Regions from separate parts of the Homo sapiens genome. Here all the other regions are linked to region 1. Evidence: promoter capture Hi-C in 16 types of primary human blood cells and fetal thymus (Javierre and others, 2016). All regions are on one chromosome and are shown on one strand. Each heading gives the region's core, a stretch centred on a gene start or on the middle of the fragment in contact. The rest is flanking DNA. Distances are from core to core; before and after follow the strand shown.

Region 1 (2,903 bases), core at 195-2,694:
CAGAGCCACCCCAAGGCATCATGACAGTGGGACTGCCAGTGAAGGAAGCCACACCCTGAAATCTGGGGATTCTGTGGAAATCAGTTCCTGCAGCAATCTCATGGCCAGTTAAACTGTCCTCATCCACTTATTTAATCATCACATTTACTGAGCTTGTACCACTGCAAAACCCTATGCTCGGCAGGCACCTTAATGCAACTTATTAACAAATATCTATTCTTTCTTCTGCTGCTCCTTAGTACTTTTTCCCAAATAAAATTTGAAAAACATTTTATGATTATGTTTTTCATCAGCTTTGTGACCTTGGGCAAATTGCTAAACCTCTCTGAGTCTCAATGTTTAAAAGGGGATAATTTCACAAAGCTGTTGTAAGAGTTATATGAGATGTTTAAACATACCTAGTATACTGCCTAGCGTACTGGTGCTCAACAATCCCATACATCCTTTATTCCTTCCTTCAAAGGCCTTTCCCTCCAGGACCTGCCAAAGTCAGTTATTCCACCTGATCTTACTGCTTCCTTCCGCACGGTCAAACCTAGGGGCTCAAATCTCCTATCTTTGCTTTAGAGGCCTCACTGGTCCTCATCCTCGGCTTAGGGCCCTGTGCTCTCGCAGCAGTTTCTGTCTCCACTAAAATGCAGCGTGGAGCAACTGGGCTACCATGGAGAAGAAAAATCCGAATGGGGAAAGAGGAGGAATGGAAAGAGGCTGCAGCCCTAGAAGGCCCCCACCTCTGGGCCACGGTGTGGGGATACAAGTAAGGGCACATGGAACCCTACAGGGATCCCGGTGGAGGCCAAAGTCCTTGGAGCCGTGGGAAGTCACTCATGGATCCCATGGGAGGATCCCCCTCCCCAGTCAGAGGTTGCTTCCCACAGTTCTAGGGCACAGTCTCAGGTCCTCCTTTTCTAGGGAGCCCTCTGGGGGCTCCACCACCTCGAGGTTCCTGCGGCTCCCCTATGTTCCCAGGTGGTCTTCCATTGAGCCAGCTCCAGAGACCACCCTTGTGCCTGCTCCCACAGTGACACAGAAGGGCTCTCTGGGGCCAGTCCCCTCCACGCTGGGGCTCCCTATGGCAGCAAATGCAGACAGCGCCGCGGGAGTCCATTCCCACAGGGGGTCTTTATGGGGGCGGCTCCCCACAGCACCTCAGGGACTCCCCCAAGGCGTAGAGGCAGCAGCTACTTGGGGTTCATCCAATGACACAGGGGGGCCACCTTGGAGGCGGCTCCCACACAAGCACCTCAGAGTCCCGGAGGACTGTCCGCGGCCGCAGACCCGCCCCTCAGGTGACGGCCCGGTCCCCGCCGCCCCCGCCCCCGCTTACCGGGACCGTCCGGGTGCGGGACGCGGCTCCGGGGCGGCGGACTCTACACACCGCGGGCCCCGCGCAGCCCACGGCAGCCCGAGAGCCGGCGTGCTGGGCCGAGCGCCGGCAGCAGGCGGCGCGGGCGGAGCGGCAGGCTGAGGAGGCGGCGGCGGCGGCGGCGGCGGCGGCGGCGCGCGCGGCCGGAGCACACCCACCCGCCCCGGGGGGCTGCGGCGTGTGCACCCGCGCGAGGTGCCCTGGGCCGGCCGGTGGGCGCGCCCCGCCCCGCCCAGTCCTCTTGCGCCTCCAGGAGACGCCCTCGCGGCTCCGCGGGCGGCGGGTGACCGGCGACGGGCGCGCGGGCGTGGGGCGCCGTGGGAATGCGGGAGGACGGCGGACGGCTCCGATGAGCAGACGGCCCAGGTGCCCGTGGGCGCCCCCCACGAGCGCCCGGCACTGCGGCGCGGGGACTGCGCCAGCGGCCGACTGCGGCAAGGACAGTGCCCGCCCGGAGGAGGCGGCCCGGAGGGGGCGCCTTGGGGGCGCTGGGGCCGCTCACCGCTCGCGTTCCGCGCCGGGGGTTGGGTGGGGGGAAGGCGGGGTCCGGGTGGATGCCGCCACCAGCACGTGCCCGGGGTGGGGAGAATGACTCATCCAGCAGGGCCTACCAGCCGTCCCCCGCAGGGCTCCGGGCTCACGACCCCTGGCACTGGGGCACTCACCTTTGCAGTACCCCACTGGCCTCCGGAGGGTCCCAACGAACCTTCACATAATCCTCGGCTGGCCCAGCCTACCCTATGCGCTGTTTTCTGGGATTATTGGTTTTTCATCTCCAGCAGCGAGGCTGTGCTGTCGTGTAACCCACTTTTTGCTGCAGCAACCTCATCCCTCACAATATCCAAACAGCTAGCTTGTCAGAAGGCCAGCAATTCTGAGGGCTATAATGTGCATTACACCAAACTACATGCTTTGAAGAGGGCAAGAAAAAGATAAAATCGTAAGATAGCCAGCAACTAATTATAAGGAAAAATTGAAGATATGCAAATGATATGTCGAGAGCCCTTTAATTTATATTAATTGCACTTACATTTTTAAAATACCTTTATTTTCTTGTGCATTCAATTTATTTACCTCAAATATAATGCATGTCATTTTTTTGAGCGTCTAGTATTTGTTACATACTGTGCTAGGTACCCTGGTGCGATATAAAAAAGAAATTTTGCCCTTAACATGGAATTTACCAATAGAGGATATAAGGCAAGTATGGTATATTTCTATCACTTTAAAACACGAAGTGCCAGGTACTATTCTAAATGGTTTAAATATGTTGTCATTAATTTTCACACCATCCCTTTGAGGGAGTCTACTGTTAGTTTCGACATTTTGCCAGTGATGAAACTGAGGCAAAGAGAGGTTAAACAACTCGCCCAAGGTCACATGGCTAATATGTGATGGAGGTGAGACTGAAATTCAGGTATTCTGATTTCATACCGCAAGCTCCTATTTCTCAGTCCTGCCACTGAGAAAGGAGAGGCTATAAACCATTAATATATGGAGTTCTAAAATTAGTACTTATTAGTTCTAAAATTAGTGC
Region 2 (2,700 bases), core at 82-2,581, 210 kb after region 1:
TTCTTTATGATTAGTGCTTTTTGTGTCCTTTTTAAGAAATTTTTCCTAACCTCAAGGTAATGAAGATAGTCTTCTATGTTATATTCTAGAAGCTTTATGATTTGTTTGACCACCCTAAAGCAACAGGATGGGCCCACACCCAAAATCTGATTTGAATATCAAGACTGATGATGCCACACACAATAAGAGGGTATAAAAAGGTTTATTATTTACATAATTGAGGTCTCTGGGAGCAGGGCATGCCTCCCAAGCTGCCAAAATTTTGGCTTTATTGAGCAAGGAAAGGAGACTGACTCACAGTTTTTAATGTTTGCTTAGTATTCTTTATCAGATTTCATCCATTCCTTGTTTGAGAAAAGTTTTCCTAATGAATGAATGTTTAATATTATCAAAATATTTTTCTACATCAATATTATCATACAATTTTTATTCCTAATTCTCTTAATGTGAATTGCAGTGATTGCTCTTTCAATCTTGCACTTGCTTTGTACTCCTGAAATAAACCCAATTCACTCATAGTGTATTGCTGATTTTATATGTGGATTTAGTTTGGTAATCTTTTGTTTAGGTTGCTAATATCTATGTTCATAAATGAAACTAGCTTGTACTTTTCTTTTCTCTTACTATAGTTGTCAGGCTTTGGTATCTCATGGCTGGTAGCTAAGCTAGAGGCACTGGCAATTCCAGATCACCATAGTTCAATCAGAGACTGAGAGGATTCAAAGTAGATTCAATTCCTGTGACAGCTTATCTATTTCCAGTTCATACTTACTGCTATGGTACAGCTCTTCAGGATTGACCAAAAGCCTGTGGTTTTTACCAGAACCCCTCCTTCTTATCAAGCAAATTCCAAGTTTTGTTCCCTTTAACCTATAAATCTTTCAAATTTTCTGCTCAGTTTTTCGGCCTGTTAGCCCTTGTCATTGACCTTAAGAGGAAGAACAGCCCCAAATGTCAGGCTCACTTCAGTAAGCTTTCCCTCTCACTTGAATCTTGACCCCATAATTCCTCAGTGCTTTGGTAGTTTTACCAAAGTTTTTAAAGTAATTTTTGATAGTTTTATCAAACTTTTGTTGAGGTTTTACAATGCCTTTCAACATTATTTAAAAATATTTTGTCACTATTTTCTAGTTGTTCTTGGCAGGAGAAATGGTCTGAATCAACTTAATCTATCATTGGATTGAAAGTGCCCTAATTGTTTACTTTTGAAATGTTTTTTTAAACTATAGAAGTACAATGCATCTTCATTATTTGTTAGGGGGGTAAAGTTGTGGGTATATTTTTCCATTTTCAGAATTCTGAATGGGAAATGGAAAAATATACCCACAACTTTACCCCCCATAATAAATAATGCTATCAGTATGGGGTATTTCTGGTCTTTTTTCTCATGGACACATTTTTCCATGGTTATATACTCTTAGTGCTCAAATAATTTCACATGCTGGTTTTTTTCCTTTAACATCATTCCCGTCAGTATTTTACCTACCTACCTCTTATTGTAAATATCATTTCTTCTTGAAAAGCTAGTAAATTCTTTCCCCACCGCTTTTTTCATTCTCCTACGAGAGTACCTACAGCTACTTCTCACACTCCAGTGAAGCAGCTAGCCTATAAAATGAAGCTGATTGATGGATGGAAAATTGAGTAGCCCACTCTGTTGGTCCTCTTGACCATGGCTCACCAAGCTTGGCCAGTATAGCTGTGGATCCAAGAAGCCAGTATGGAGCAGCAAGAATCAGGAGGCTGATCAGAATTAACAACACTCCAGCTGTGGGGACTTAGTAGTCAGCCTACTTCAGCTCCTTCCTGACCTCTCTGCTCTGAGTCATGGAGGATAGTCTGCCAGCTGGCTGCTCCTTGCTCTAATCCCTCCTCTGCTCCTGTGTACTCAGTACACCCCTGCACTCCTTTAGCATCCATCCCAGCAAGGATAGCAGCTTCCGCCCAAGCCTTCTAGTTAGGAAATGATATTGTCTCTTCTGATTCTGTGCTAAAATATTCCTGTCAAGCTGTAACTAACCCCTGGCTTCCTGTTCAACACCTGTCTGGCTGGTGGAGCAGATGATTAATGAGTATGTCATGGACCTGGATTTTTTTTTTTAATCTTGCCAAGTCATGACAGGTGATATCTCCACCTCCATCCACTTGGAATGTTTCCGTATTAAAGATTACCTGATTTTGGCAAGACCTATTCTTTAGAGCAGCAGCTCCCAACCTTTTTTACACCCTGACACATTTGGGAAATGATATTCAAGTGCCCAGTGTTACCCAGTGCACAATTTCCAGCATATGTGCTGTAACTCTACCCCTTTCTCTCCCTCAGCAAAGCATTGCAGAATGAAAGTAAAAGTAGCATATTATAGAGATAAATTTAAGTTGCCTTTATTCTTTCATCATGTAAAACATTAAAATATTTTGGCACAATATTTAGTGACAAATGAACAAGGTTGAAAACCACTGTTCTGTGGTGATTCACCTCCTCATCAGAAAGCAATTACTAGGAACCTTCTGAGTATGCAGCACTGAGCCAGGTTGCAACCTACTTTGTAGTTGGCCATAAGCAAGCCAATTTTGTTATAGTTTTTACCCCAAATTTGAACTTACAGCTCTATGATTTTTGTGCATTACATCTTTCTCACTCTTACATATAAGCAGTTTATTGGTTCTTCAAAATTCCAAGCCTATTTATTCTCCAGTGAA
Region 3 (2,700 bases), core at 31-2,530, 230 kb after region 1:
AACTTAACTTCGACTACCCAGGAGCCCTCTCTGATGACCATGATCCTCACTATGATTTCTCTTCTCTGAAATGGAATGTTTGTGGCCAGAGCCTTACGAATGAGTATATAAGTCTATTTGTAGTGATTGTTGGCTCTTGCTTTGTATGAATTAGTCTTGTCTTTGAAACTACATTTTTAAGTATCTTGAAAGCAGAAAGCCAATGCGGCTCAAATGTCTTTGTATCCTCAACACTCCCCAGCTTAGGGCTGAGCACATATTGGGTGCTTACCACATCTGCTGGGTGGGCTGGATACTGAGGAAGGACCAAAGCCTCTTCAGAGATTTTCAGCCCAAAGGTTTCTTGGCCTGAGACCACCATTACCAGAGCAGAACTCTCTCAAGGAAATTCAGGAATACTGAGGTGTTGGTGGCATATCACAATATCTACAAAAGCTAGGCAGGTAAATCAATAGTCTGGCTATGGAAGTAATGGGTCCTGAAGCTGAATTGGAAAACACATGCCCTGCCTAAAAATTTACAAAATACAGATTTGAGAAAAATAAACAAACAAACAAAAAAAACATCCTCAGGCAAACAGCATACATCCAACCATGAACAGCAACTAGTCACTTGTGACCCACAGTCAGAAGCGGCCACTAACCCATCTCTGCAGGCATTCATCTCCCTGAGCATGAATGTGCCTCCATGGAAGGTAGCATTTACAGTCCCAACCCATCTGCAAGCTTGAGGCCACACAGACCAGATACGTACAACCACCTTGGCCTCTCCCTACCACCCTACCACATCAGCCATGGTCCCCTTCCTGCACCTCTGTTACCAATCACCCATTGCCTAAAACATCAAAGATCTCCATTTCCAAGCCATAACCAGACTCCGCCCTCCCTAAATTCATGTGTGTTTCTCAGGTATATTACCAAAACTAGTGGGAGAGTTAGTGGAGGTTCCTCCGGCCTATCTACCCCTTCTTATGAGGTGACCCCTGTGCCAAAGCACTCAGTTTTCTGAGGACAGGTGACCATACAGTTGTGAAGGAGAGAGCCGAGGCATCAGGCTGGTATAGGGAGTGGAAAGTGAAGACAGACTAGGAAATAGACACTGCTTGTGGCACCTTCAGTCCCAGGCTCAAAACACCCTCATCTACAGACTGAATCACCACATGAGCTTCCCTACTACATGTACCTTATGAAACAGGAGGGCTTTGTGATGCAGTCTGGTGGCCTAGTTCCGTCCTCTGTGAGGTGGACATGACAAGGCCTAGCACTGGGATTCATTAGGCACCAGAACCCTGAATTCCGAGATAGAGGGATGGTTGATCTCATGCTAATGAAGTTTAGACCATGTTGAGCCCTACTTTTGTTCTGTGGGAAGTTGGATATCCCTTATACATCTATGGCTCCATCTTCATCGTTATTGTAATTATCTGGCAAGTGAAAAGGAGCCACCATGAATTGAGTTCAGAACCTAAAAGGAGCTGCTGCCGGGTAGGGCTGTGATCCCAACTGAACTAATTAAGCCTCAGATAAGAAGCCTATAAGTTCTTACCGTGCTCCCTTATAATCCCCACCCCAGAATTTTTATAGCATACTTTCAGTTACCTTTGTGTAATACTTTTCTTCTCAGAGACTATAATTCCTTACCAGGCCCTTCCCGCAACATAGTCTGATTGAAAAGCCAAGAACCTCTCTATTTGGTTTGGATTGAGAACTAGATAATATGAAGTCTATCTTGCTGGATCTCGGAAGCTCTCTGAATATGGGGGATTTTTCCGGTTGGTGGGCTTTGTAAGCAGAAGTCCTTTGGTTGTTAGAACCATTTACCCTTTTGTCTGTTCTGCTTTTCCTCCTGTGTCATCCTCAGCATCCAGCAGGACTTCTCTGTGAATCAGATGGGAGGTATAGAATTTGGAAAAGCCTCCAAGTGAATCCAAAATAAGCAGAGAAGGAAAATGGGGTAAAAAGGTGGAATAGGCAAAGGAAGTCCAGGAGAGTGTATAAAATACAGATAGATATATACAAAGCGAGTGAAAAATGTATGTAAGTTTTGTCTCATTTTGGACATGAGAAAGAAAATGGTGTCCCAGCTTCACATTCTAATGTTTTTGTCTTCTAAGTGTCACCAAAAAGTCAGGCAAAGAGCTAGAGATGCAGCATCAACAGGTAAAGTCCCAATCTCTCCTCTGACTCCCTTCCACTGTGGGTGTTTCCCATGAATCCTGTCCCTCTGTGACCTCTGGAGCCAAGAGCCAGGTGCTCTGCCACTGAAGACTCCAGTTCCCCAGACTGAAATTTCCATGGGTGGGAAATCATAACTTGAGAATGTTCCAAAATCCTGTACCTCAATGCCCTGGAAATGAAGAATTAAGAAAGTAGAGCAGATGTTCTTAATTGTATAACTTACTAGTTTTATGACCCTGTGGAAGTCATTTCATCTCTCATTCTTATCCACAAAATGAGCAAAACACTGACAATCCTGCCTCAATCACATTGTGGTTGTAAAAATCAAATGAAATTAGATATGGGACATTGTGTTACAGCGATGCTGTACTCAGACATGCCTTAGAGTACGGACTTTTCAGGATTGTAGTCTTTTCTTGATGAGAGTCAAAGGCCTTACTATTCAGCTTCCTATAGGATGCCTATGAAATTATCCCATGCCATATAACACTGTCTCCCCGTTCCTCAGCTAGGAGACGTTCCC

Evidence for each region. The method cuts DNA at HindIII sites, captures the fragments that hold promoters and counts their contacts. A CHiCAGO score of 5 or more calls a contact.
Region 2: a contact is called between a fragment that was not itself captured here and the fragment with the promoter of PHF24 in region 1, in 1 of 17 cell types (endothelial precursors). The highest score is 5.6, in endothelial precursors.
Region 3: a contact is called between the fragment with the promoter of SPATA31F1 here and the fragment with the promoter of PHF24 in region 1, in 4 of 17 cell types (erythroblasts, endothelial precursors, M2 macrophages and 1 more). The highest score is 6.6, in erythroblasts.

What each region holds. Positions count from the first base shown.
Region 1 is chr9:34,956,826-34,959,728 of GRCh38, reverse strand. It overlaps PHF24 (PHD finger protein 24), which reads right to left and starts at 1,444. Exons shown (of 8, transcript NM_015297.3): 1 at 1,328-1,444. RefSeq lists a silencer at 1,317-1,396 and an enhancer at 2,746-2,885. The HindIII fragment of the contact is 16,428 bases long and covers 1-2,903 here.
Region 2 is chr9:34,744,276-34,746,975 of GRCh38, reverse strand. It overlaps a transcript of PHF24 not described here. Among named protein-coding and RNA genes, the nearest start is that of SPATA31F1, 16 kb to the right of the region's middle. The HindIII fragment of the contact is 712 bases long and covers 976-1,687 here.
Region 3 is chr9:34,728,068-34,730,767 of GRCh38, reverse strand. SPATA31F1 (SPATA31 subfamily F member 1) reads left to right here and starts at 1,280. Exons shown (of 4, transcript NM_001141917.2): 1 at 1,280-1,484; 2 at 2,114-2,159; 3 at 2,686-2,700. The coding sequence starts at 1,341. It also overlaps a transcript of PHF24 not described here. The HindIII fragment of the contact is 7,130 bases long and covers 728-2,700 here.